Linked DNA regions of Homo sapiens: region 2 is linked to region 1. The links are contacts of gene promoters, found by promoter capture Hi-C in blood cells and fetal thymus (Javierre and others, 2016). All regions are on one chromosome and are shown on one strand. The core of a region is centred on a gene start or on the middle of the fragment in contact, and the rest is flanking DNA. Distances in the headings are between cores, read along the strand shown.

The links. The method cuts DNA at HindIII sites, captures the fragments that hold promoters and counts their contacts. A CHiCAGO score of 5 or more calls a contact.
Region 2: a fragment that was not itself captured here is called in contact with the fragment with the promoter of GIPC1 in region 1 in 1 of 17 cell types (M0 macrophages); the score reaches 5.4 in M0 macrophages.

What each region holds. Positions count from the first base shown.
Region 1 is chr19:14,493,424-14,498,387 of GRCh38, forward strand. GIPC1 (GIPC PDZ domain containing family member 1) reads right to left here and starts at 2,704. Exons shown (of 9, transcript NM_005716.4): 1 at 2,614-2,704. RefSeq lists enhancers at 2,019-2,945, 4,226-4,725 and silencers at 2,608-2,837, 2,978-3,037. The HindIII fragment of the contact is 11,428 bases long and covers 1-4,964 here.
Region 2 is chr19:14,075,641-14,080,604 of GRCh38, forward strand. No RefSeq gene overlaps it. Among named protein-coding and RNA genes, the nearest start is that of MIR1199, 4.8 kb to the left of the region's middle. The HindIII fragment of the contact is 1,703 bases long and covers 1,293-2,995 here.

The DNA.
Region 1 (4,964 bases), core at 1,454-3,953:
GTCCAGCCTAAAGACCTTGGCCTTGCCCATCTCTCTCTCTTTTTTTTTTTTCGAGATGGAGTCTTGCTCTGTCACCCAGGTTGGAGTGCAGTGGCGCCATCTCAGCTCACTGCAACCTCCACCTCCTGGGTTCAAACGATTCTTCTGCCCTAGCCTCCTGAGTAGCTGGGATTACAGGCACGCACCACCACATCCGGCTAATTTTTGTATTTTTATTTTGTATTTGTTTATTTTTATTTATTTATTTATTTTTGAGACGGAGTTTCATTCTTGTTGCCCAGGTTGGAGTGCAATGGCGCGATCTTGGCTCACCGCAACCTCTGCCTACCGGGTTCAAGCGATTCTCTCCTGCCTCAGCCTCCCATGTAGCTGTGATTACAGGCATGTGCCACCACGCCCAGCTTATTTTATATTTTTAGTAGAGACAGGGTTTCTCCATGTTGGTCAGGCTGGTCTTGAACTCCTGACCTCAGGTGATCTGCCTGCCTCGGCCTCCCAAAGTGCTGGGATTACAGGCATAAGCCACCACGCCTGGCCTATTTTTATTTTTTTTTGAGATGGAGTCTCGCTCTGTAGCCCAGGCTGGAGTGCAGTGGCACGATCTCAGCTCACTGCAACCTCCGCCTCCCGGGTTCAAGCGATTCTCCTGCCTCAGCCTCCTGAGTAGCTGGGCTTACAGGCGTGCGCCACCACACCCAGCTAATTTTCATATTTTTAGGAGAGAGGGGGTTTCACCATGTTGATCAGGCTGGTCTCAAACTCCTGACCTCTTGACCCACCTGTCTCAGCCTCCCAAAGTGCTGGGATTACAGGGGTGAGCCATGCCCCTAGCCAATTTTTGTATTTTTAGTAGAGACAGGGTTTCCCCATGTTGGCCAGGCTGGTCTCAAACTCCTGACCTCAAGCAACCCACCCGCCTCGGCCTCCCAAAGTGCTGGGATTACAGGCGTGAGCCACCGCGCCCGGGCCCCCTTGCCTGATCTTTGCTGGGCTGGCACCCCTTGCCCACAACTACTCTCTACAGTACCACCCGCTCATATTTTATTCATAGCAGTTAGTGCCATCTGAAATTATCTTCTTTATTTACTTGCTAACTTGTTTGTTGGCTGCTTCCTTCCTTTCAGAGTGCCAACTCCTCAAAAGTAGGGATTTTGTTTTGTTCACTGTTGCATTTTCTGTGCCAAGAACAGTGCCTAGCACATGCACGTAGCAGGTGCTCACTAAATATTTGTAGACTGAGTGAATGAATGTGTCTCAGGTCCTCGTTCTGATTGCTCTCTGTGCTCCCCATCCTTGAAACAGCCCCCTAAACATGCCTGCTGTGCGGTTGCCAACTGTCCTAGGCTCCCCACTTTCCCTGGCTCCCCTCACACCTGAACACAGAGATGAAGAGCCACTTCAGCCCGGATATTGAGTGTTTGGGCTGGAATTTCAGCATCCTCACCCCCTCATCCTGGGAAGGGCCTGAAACTTAGCAACCCCACGGCCACACAGAAGCAGTGTGGCCAGCAGGAGGAGGGGAAGGGGGTTCCTGGGAGCACACAGAAGCTAGGGGAAGGGGGAAACCACGCCCAGGCTCCCCGTTCCAGCACAGTGTTGCTTTGGAGAGAAGGAGGGAAAGAGGCCTCTGATTCACTCTTGAAAAACCGGCTCCTGGGTGTTTCCGGGGAGAACGCCTACTTCCCAGCCTCGGCCCAGGTTGCCAGGGGGGAACCCAGTGGGCCCAGACCCCAGCATCCTGGCCCCCTGCAGACGCCACTCTCTTCTCTGGACCCAGGTAGTTAGACCTGCCCTCTCCAGCTCTGGGGAGAAGGGAAAGGAGGGCAGCTTCCTGTTTGAGTGGCTGGTAAAGCAAAAGACCAGCAGGTGTGGCCCTGATGATGAGTACGGGGTAGGGGGTGGGAGGGGTAGGGGGCCGGAGCTACTCAGCAACAACTGAGCCGTGGAGTTATTGGTATCCAGTCTAGTGGGTGTGACTCCAGTTCTGGACCCTGGGGCATGAGTTCCAGTCCCAGATGTGCCAGTTACTAGCTGTGTGACCTTGGGCAAGTCACTCCACCTCTCTGGGTAGGCTGCCTCACCTTTTTTACAAGAAGGCACAGCACCTCCCATGAGGTGTTTAGAGTCAATTATCCTCATGGTAAATGCCTGACACGGAAGCTCTCCAATAAATGCTAGCTGAGGTGGAGTTTTTCATGACGATTATTATTCAGACCGTGGTCCTCACTGCGTCCCCCCCAAGGCCCTGGAGGGTTCAGACGCGGTTAGCTCAGGGGAAGTGCCCAGGAAAGGGTCAGAAACACTGACCCCGCGCCTGTCCACGCTGGGATGGGGACAGTCCAGCCGGGGGACGGGGGGAGGGGCAAGCCCAGAAACCCCAGCCCAGCGTTGGGAGGCGTTTGTCCCCTGCCCGCCAGCAGGAAGGGAGCTGCCCCCACCACCCCCCACCCCCGCTTCCCCTGGGAAGGGGCCTCCGGCATCCCCGCGCGCAGCCTAGACCTCCAGTCGCGTCCACGGCGCCGGCCCCACCCTGCAGGATCGGCCGGATCCTCGCAGGCCCGCGACCCCCGAGGCCCCCGGAGCAGACACATCCTTCTCGCAGAGGCCACTCACCTGCTCCGCCGCCGCCGCCGCCGCCGCCGCCGCCGCCGCTGCCTCCGCCTCCCCGTGCGCACCCGGCTCGGCCCTCCGCAAACTCCAGACCGGGCCTCTCCCGCAGCGGCGCCTGGGGGGCGGGGCCGACGCCCGCGGCCGGCCAATCAGCGGCTGCCTCTCGGTGCTCGCAGCCAATCCGCGTCTTCCGCTTCGGGTGGACCCGACGGAAACATTCCAGAGGGATCCCTCCGCCTCGCCCGGCTCTTCCCGACTCCTCCCCTCGCCGCGAAGCAGTGGACCGTTCCGCCCCGCCTAAGCCGCGGCTGGCTGTACCACCGGAGGGCTGAGGAGGGGGGGGAGCTGCAGCTGGGCCCCGGCCAATCGCGAGGGAGGAAGGAGACAAGCGGCCAATGGGAAGGAAGCTGGGGCCCCTGAACCACGTGCTGTCGGCTGAGTGTCAGTCTCGGGTGCCCTGGGTGGTGAGGGGCGGGGGAGTCAGGTGACCTAGGCCAGGTTTCGGGGAAAGGATTCGAACTTCCGACGTCCAGGAAAGCGGACAGTTTAGGAGACCTGGGTGGGGGTCAATGGCAGTCCCCAACCCAGTTCCCTGCCCGGCCTCCTCTGCCCCAGCCTGGCCATCCTCGGAGCGGATAAAAAGATGCATTCAATCTCTGGGGGCGGGCGGGGGATCGAGATGAATAGGGAGGGTCCCGAGTTTCCCTGCTTCCTGGGCTGTACAATGGACAAAGGCATTCATTCATTCATTCGTTCACTCACTCATCAAATATTTAATGTGCCAGACTGCTCCGTGCCAGACTCTGTCCTACCTCTGAAGACGCGTCAGTGAATAAGCTGAATGTGCTCCTGGTAGAGGTAACAGAGCGTGCAAAAGCCGGACAGAGAGATACAGCACGCTTTAGGATACTGCAATATCGTGGGAGCTAGTAAATCAGTGTGGAAAGGCAAGATGCAATGAAAGACAAGGGTGAGATAGTTTATCTGCTTGTTGGTTTGTTTATGTGCTAGGTCACAGAAGGTACCCAGCCAGCCTTTCATAGATCTGTCTCCTCCATCTGACTGTGAGGGTGGAGGCTGAGTCTCTCTTGTCAACCCCTCACTCCCACCTCAGGCTGCCACACGGCAGGTTCTCAGCAAACCTGTGTGGACAAATAGACCATGTAGTTTATAAGGAAGGGGGATTTATCAGGTGGACACAGATCCAAGAAACAAGAGTCACAAATGCACCTGGACCAGGCCAGGACGCTCAGTTCCCGGGACAAGTGAGATTTCCTTGTTCTAGTTCAAACCCAGCCACTTGGACAGCAACTGGGGCTGAATGCTGTGTGTTCTGGGAACTGTAGTTCCTGGAAGCCTCTAAGTGCTGAGACCCTGCTCAAGCTCCATAGAAAGACTGGTTCTTTGCAGTTCCCAGGGTGAGATGTTGTGCATATCAGTCCCACCAGGACCTGCAGAGGGGCAAACTAAAATGGGAGATGGAACCTTGAGCTTTGCTGCTGAGGATTGCCTAGCCAGCCCCACCCAGCTGGCAAACACCGAGATTGCTGTGGCAGGCCAGGCAACAGGCACAGCTATTGTCCGTCCCTTCCTGTTCTGCTGACCTCTGCCATCCCACTGAGCAATCAGTTGCCTGGGCTGGCCAGTACCCTCTGTGGGACTGTGCTGCCTGCCCTGCTTGAGCCTGGCATCTAAGCTGCCCCCTGCACACTTGGAGAGGACGGGATGCTGAGCCCAGGGGACAGCATGACTGAGGCTGCAGAGTCCTGAGCCAGACTCCAACTGGCTCCTGTTTCCTGATGAGGAAGTGCCCGGAGAAGGGGTGATGGGATTGTGGGATTGCTCAAGACACAGAGCAGCACTGGGCACCTCCTTTCTGAATTTTTTTTTTTTTTTTTTTGAGACAGTGTCTAGCTCCGTTGGCCAGGCTGGAATGCAGTGGCAGGATCTCAGCTCACTGCAACCTCCACCTCCTAGGCTCAAGTAATCCTCCCATCTTAGCCTACCGAGTAGCTGGGACCACAGGCATGTACCACCACACCTGGCTAATTTTTGTTGTTGTTGTTGTTTGTTTGTTTGTTTTTTTGAGACGGAGCCTCACTCTGTCACCCAGGCTGCAGTGCAGTGGTGCAATCTCAGCTTACTGCAACCTCCGCTTCTCAGGTTCGAGCAATTCTCACGCCTCAGTCTCCTGAGTAGCTGGGATTACAGCGTGCGCCATCATGCTCGGCTAAATTTTTTGTATTTTTAAAAGAGACGGGGTTTCGCCATGTTGGCCAGGCTGGTCTCGAACTCCTGGCCTCAAGTGATCCACCTGCCTCGTCCTCCTGAAATGCTGGGATTACAGGCATGAG
Region 2 (4,964 bases), core at 894-3,393, 420 kb before region 1:
GAATTGGAGACGAGCCTGGCCAACACGGTGAAACCCCGTCTCTACTAAAAATACAAAATATTAGCCGGGCGTGGTGGTGCATGTCTGTAATCCAGCTACTCAGGAGGCTGAGGCATGAGAATCACTTGAACCCAGGAGGCGGAGGTTGCAGTGAGCCAAGAACGGGCCACTGCACTCCAGCCTGGGTGACACAGTGAGACTCTGCCTCAAAAAAATAAAAAAGGCAACTGAAACCTGGCTTTTAAGAGAGAAATCTGCATTTTTATGATTGTGACTATTTAGGAAAAACTTTTTTTTTTTTTTGAGACAGTTTTGCTCTGTCACCCAGGCTGGAGTGCAGTGGTGCGATCTCAGCTCACTACAACCTTTGCCTCCTGGGCTCAAGCAATTCTCCTGCCTAAGCCTCCCGAGTAGCTGGAATTACAGGTGCACATCACCACACCGGCTAATTTATTGTATTTTTAGTAGAGATGGGTTTTCACCATGTTGTCCAGGCTGGTCTTGAACTCCTGGCCTCAAGTGATCTGCCGGCCTCAGCCTCCCAGTTTTTTCTAGGCGCCCTGCCTAGAAAAAACTTTTAAAGTTGTGCGGGAGGAGAGGAAGGAAGGAAGTTGGCAAGCAACAACTGTTTGCAATAGGGCCTGTGGCTGTCAATTTGCAAGCTCTGGTTAATTTCTCTCCCCTGGATGGGGGTTCAAGAGGGTGGGTGAACACCCTAAATTGTCTCTAAAACTGTATCTGCACAGTTAACATTCTGGGACTATTTTTACAGTGTCTTAGAAGTGCACTGAGGGCCTGGCGCGGTGGCTCACGCCTGTAATCCCAGCACTTTGGGAGGCCAAAGCAGGTGGATCACGAGGTCAGGAGATCAAGACCATCCTGGCTAATATGGTGAAACCCCATCTCTACTAAAAATACAAAAAAAAAAAAAAAAATTAGCCGGGCGTGGTGGTGGGTGCCTGTAGTCCCAGCTACTCAGGAGGCTGAGGCAGGAGAATGGCGTGAACCCGGGAGGTGGAGGTTGCAATGACCCGAGATTGCACCACTGCACTCTAGCCTGGGTGACAGAACAAGACTCCATATTAAAAAAAAAAAAAAGAAGTGCACTGAGGACCAGACATGGTGACTCATGCCTGTAATTCTAGCACTTTGGGAGGCCAAGGCAGGAGGATTGCTTGATCCCAGGAGTTCAAGACCAGCTTGGGCAACATAGCGAGACACTGCCCCACCCCATCTCTACAAAAAATTAACCGGGTGTGGTGGCATGTGCCTGTGGTCCCAGCTACTCTGGAAGCTTAGCAGGAGATCGCCTGAGCCTGGGAGGTTGAGGCTACAGTGAGCTATGATTGAACCACTGCACTCCAGCCTGGGTGAGAGTGAGATCTGTAACCTAAGAAAAAAAAAAAATTCACTAAGACCAGAAAAGGGGAGACCCAGGAAGTTTAAATTTAAAAATGTTTTCAATTTTGGAGACAAGTCTTGTTCTGTCACGCAGGCTGCAGTGCAGTGGCATGATCACAGCTTACTGTAACCTTGATCTCCTGGGCTCAAGTGATCCTCCTGCCTCAGCCTCCTGAGTAGCTGGGACTACAGGTGTGAACCACCACACCCAACCCAGGAACATTTTAGAATCGCTGTTTCAACTCTTGGCTCTTGAGATCGTGTCACTGCACTCCAGCCTGGGTGACAGAGCGAAACTCTGTCTTAAACAAAAACAAATTCTTGGCTCTGTCCAACTCTGTCTCTTGTATAGGGGCATCAAATGTCTAGTGAAATCCATATGCATAAAATACAGAGAGGTCATGCTGATACAAGGCTGCACCCAAGAGCAGCTCAGCCCATGAAGGGCTCATCAGCTGACCCCATCCTCAGCCCAGTGACCCCATCCTCAGCATACTTCACTGTGACTGTGGGAGCTATGTAGAGAAAGGCGGAGAGAGCCTGGGAAGGTGGAAAATGGAAACACCTAGAGGCTGGTCTTAATTTCCAGCAGGGGAGCCAAGAACTAAGTATGTCATGAGTGGACAGGGGCCGGGCATGGTGGCTCATGCCTGTAATCCCAGCACTTTGGGAGGCCAAGGTGGGTGGATCACCTGAGGTCAGGAGTTTGAGACCAGCCTGGCCAACATGGTGAAAACCCATCTCCACTAAAAATACAAAAATTAGGCCTGGTGCAGTGGCTCATGCCTGTAATCCCAGCACTTTGGGAGGCTAAGGCGAGTGGATCACCTGAGGTCAGGAGTTCGAGATCAGCCTGGCCAACATGGAGAAACCCCATCTCTACTAAAAATCAAGAAATTAGCCAGGCATGGTGGCGCATGCCTGTAGTCCAAGCTACTCAAGAGACTGAGGCAGGAGAATCACTTGAACCCAGGAGGCAGAGGTTGCAGTGAGCCCTGAGATTGCACCACTGTACTCCAGCCTGGGTGACAGAGCGAGACTCCATCTCCAAAAAAAAAAGAGTGGACAGGACTACTTAAGTATAGATGAGGGATTCTCTAACTTTTCTGAATATTAAACTCAACTGAGGCCCCCATATGTCAAGTAAATCAGAATGGGGGAAGGGCTTGACATCAGTATTTTTTGAAGCTCCCAGGTGATTACAATATACAGCTGAGTCTGAGAACCATGAAGTAAATATAAACCAGCAGTTCTCAATGTAGTGGCACCAGGACCAGCAGTATCCGCAATGCTTGGGGAATTGCTAGACATGCGCCTTCCAGGGGCCAGGTGTGGTGGCTCATGCCTATAATCACAGCACTTTGGGAGGCTGAGGTGGGATAATTGCTTGAGTCTGGGAGTTCAAGACCAGTGTGGGCAATATAGCAAGACAAAGTCTCTACCAAAAAAAAAAAAGAGAGAGAGAAAAAAAAGCACTTTCTTGGGTCTCATCCCAGACTTAATGATCAAACTCTCCATGTGATTCTGATGCACACTAGGAAGTTTGAGAATCAAGGGTGTAGAAAGCTGCTCAGCAACAGGACCCAGGAAACAAAGCTTGTTTCCTTCCCCTTCCAGTACTGTACTGTCACCACCCACCCGAAACCCTGTCTTAAGAGACAGTGGATTTGACTTAAAGGAGACCGTCTAGAGCTGCTTGTGGCTAGTCTGAATTGAGATATGTTGTAAATGTGAAATGCTAGATTTCTTTTCCTTTTTTTTTTTTTTTTTTTTTTTGAGATGGAGTCTTGCTCTTGTTGCCCAGGCTGGAGTGCAATGGCACGATCTCGGCTCACTGCAACCTCCATCTCCTGGGCTCAAGCGGTTCTCCTGCCTCAGCCTCCAGAGTAGCTGAGATTACCAGCACCTGCCACCATGCCCGGCTAATTTTTGTAGTTTTAGTAGAGATGGGGTTTCGCCATGTTGGCCAGGCTGGTCTCAAACTCCTGACCTCATGATCTGCCTGCCTCGGCCTCCCAAAGTGCTGGGATTACAGGTGTGAGCCACTGCATCTGGCTTTTTTTTTTTTTTTTCAGATGGAGTCTCGCTCTGTTGCGCAGGCTGGAGTGTAGTGGTGCGATCTCGGCTCACTGCAACCTCCATCTCCCAGATTTAAGCGAGTCTCCTGGCTCAGCCTCTTGAATAGCTGGGATCACAGGCGCCCACCACCACACCCACCTTTTTTTTTTTTGTTTTTTTTTTTTGCATTTTTAGTAGAGACAGGATTTTGCCATGTTGGCCAGGCTGGTCTCGAACTCGTGACCTCAAGTGACCCACCTGTCTCGGCCTCCCAAAGTGCTGGGATTATGGGCATGAGCCACCATGTCCGGCCAAGATTTCTAAGACAGTACAAAAAAGGAAAATACCTCAATAATTTTTTTACATGGATTATACATTGAAATAATATTTTGGGTATAACAGGTTAAATAAAATATCACGAAAATGAATCTAACCTCTTAATTTTTTATTTTTTATTTTTTTTTGAGACGGAGTCTCGCTGTGTCACCCAGGCTGGAATGCAGTGGTGCGATCTCGGCTCACTGCAAGATCCACCTCCCGGGTTCACGCCATTCTCCTGCCTCAGCCTCCCGAATGGCTGGGACTACAGGCGCCTGCCACCACGCCCGGCTAATTTTTTGTATTTTTAGTAGAGACGGGGTTTCACCGTGTTAGCCAGGATGGTCTCAATCTCCTGACCTCGTGATCCGCCTGCCTCAGCTTCCCAAAGTGCTGGGATTATAGGCATGAGCCACGGCGCCTGGCCCTAACCTCTTAATTTTTTTATGTGGTTACTAGAAAATTTGAAACTACATACGTGATTTGCGTTTGCAGCTCACTTGATATTTCCATTGGACCCCACGAGTCTAAAGAATCTTAAAGGCCGGGCAGGGTGGCTCATGCCTGTAATCCCAGCACTTTGGGAGGCCGAAGCGGGAGGATAGCTTAAGCCAGGAGTTCGAGACCAGCCTGGTCAACATAGGAAGAACCCCCCCCTTCTCTACAATAATAATAATAATATAATAATAATAATAAAATAGGGGCATCGTCGCTGCCTGTACTCCCAGCTGCTTAGGAGGCCGAAGTGGGAGGATCACTTGAACCCAGGAGTTAGAGTTTGCAGAAGTTGGAGGTTCCAGGATTGCGCCATTGCACTCCAGCCTGGGTGACAGAGCAAGACCCTTCCCTCCCCCCGAAAAACATCTTAGAGCCACAGGAAAACTCACAGGGACTCCCTCAAAGCGGTATCAGGGAGCATCAGGATTTCCTTGATGTCATTCAGACCACAGCTGTGGACTAAAAAACATCCTTGATGCAGTCAGAAATTGTCACCAGAAATACCCATGGAAGAGCAATAGTGGCCGGGCGCGGTGGCTCACGCCTGTAATCCCAGCACTTTGGGAGGCAGAGGCGAGCGGATCACCTGAGGTCAGGAGTTGGAGACCAGCCTGGCCAACATGGCGAAACCCCGTCTCTACTAGAAATACAAAAACTAGCTGGGCCTGGTGGCATCAGCCTGTAATCCC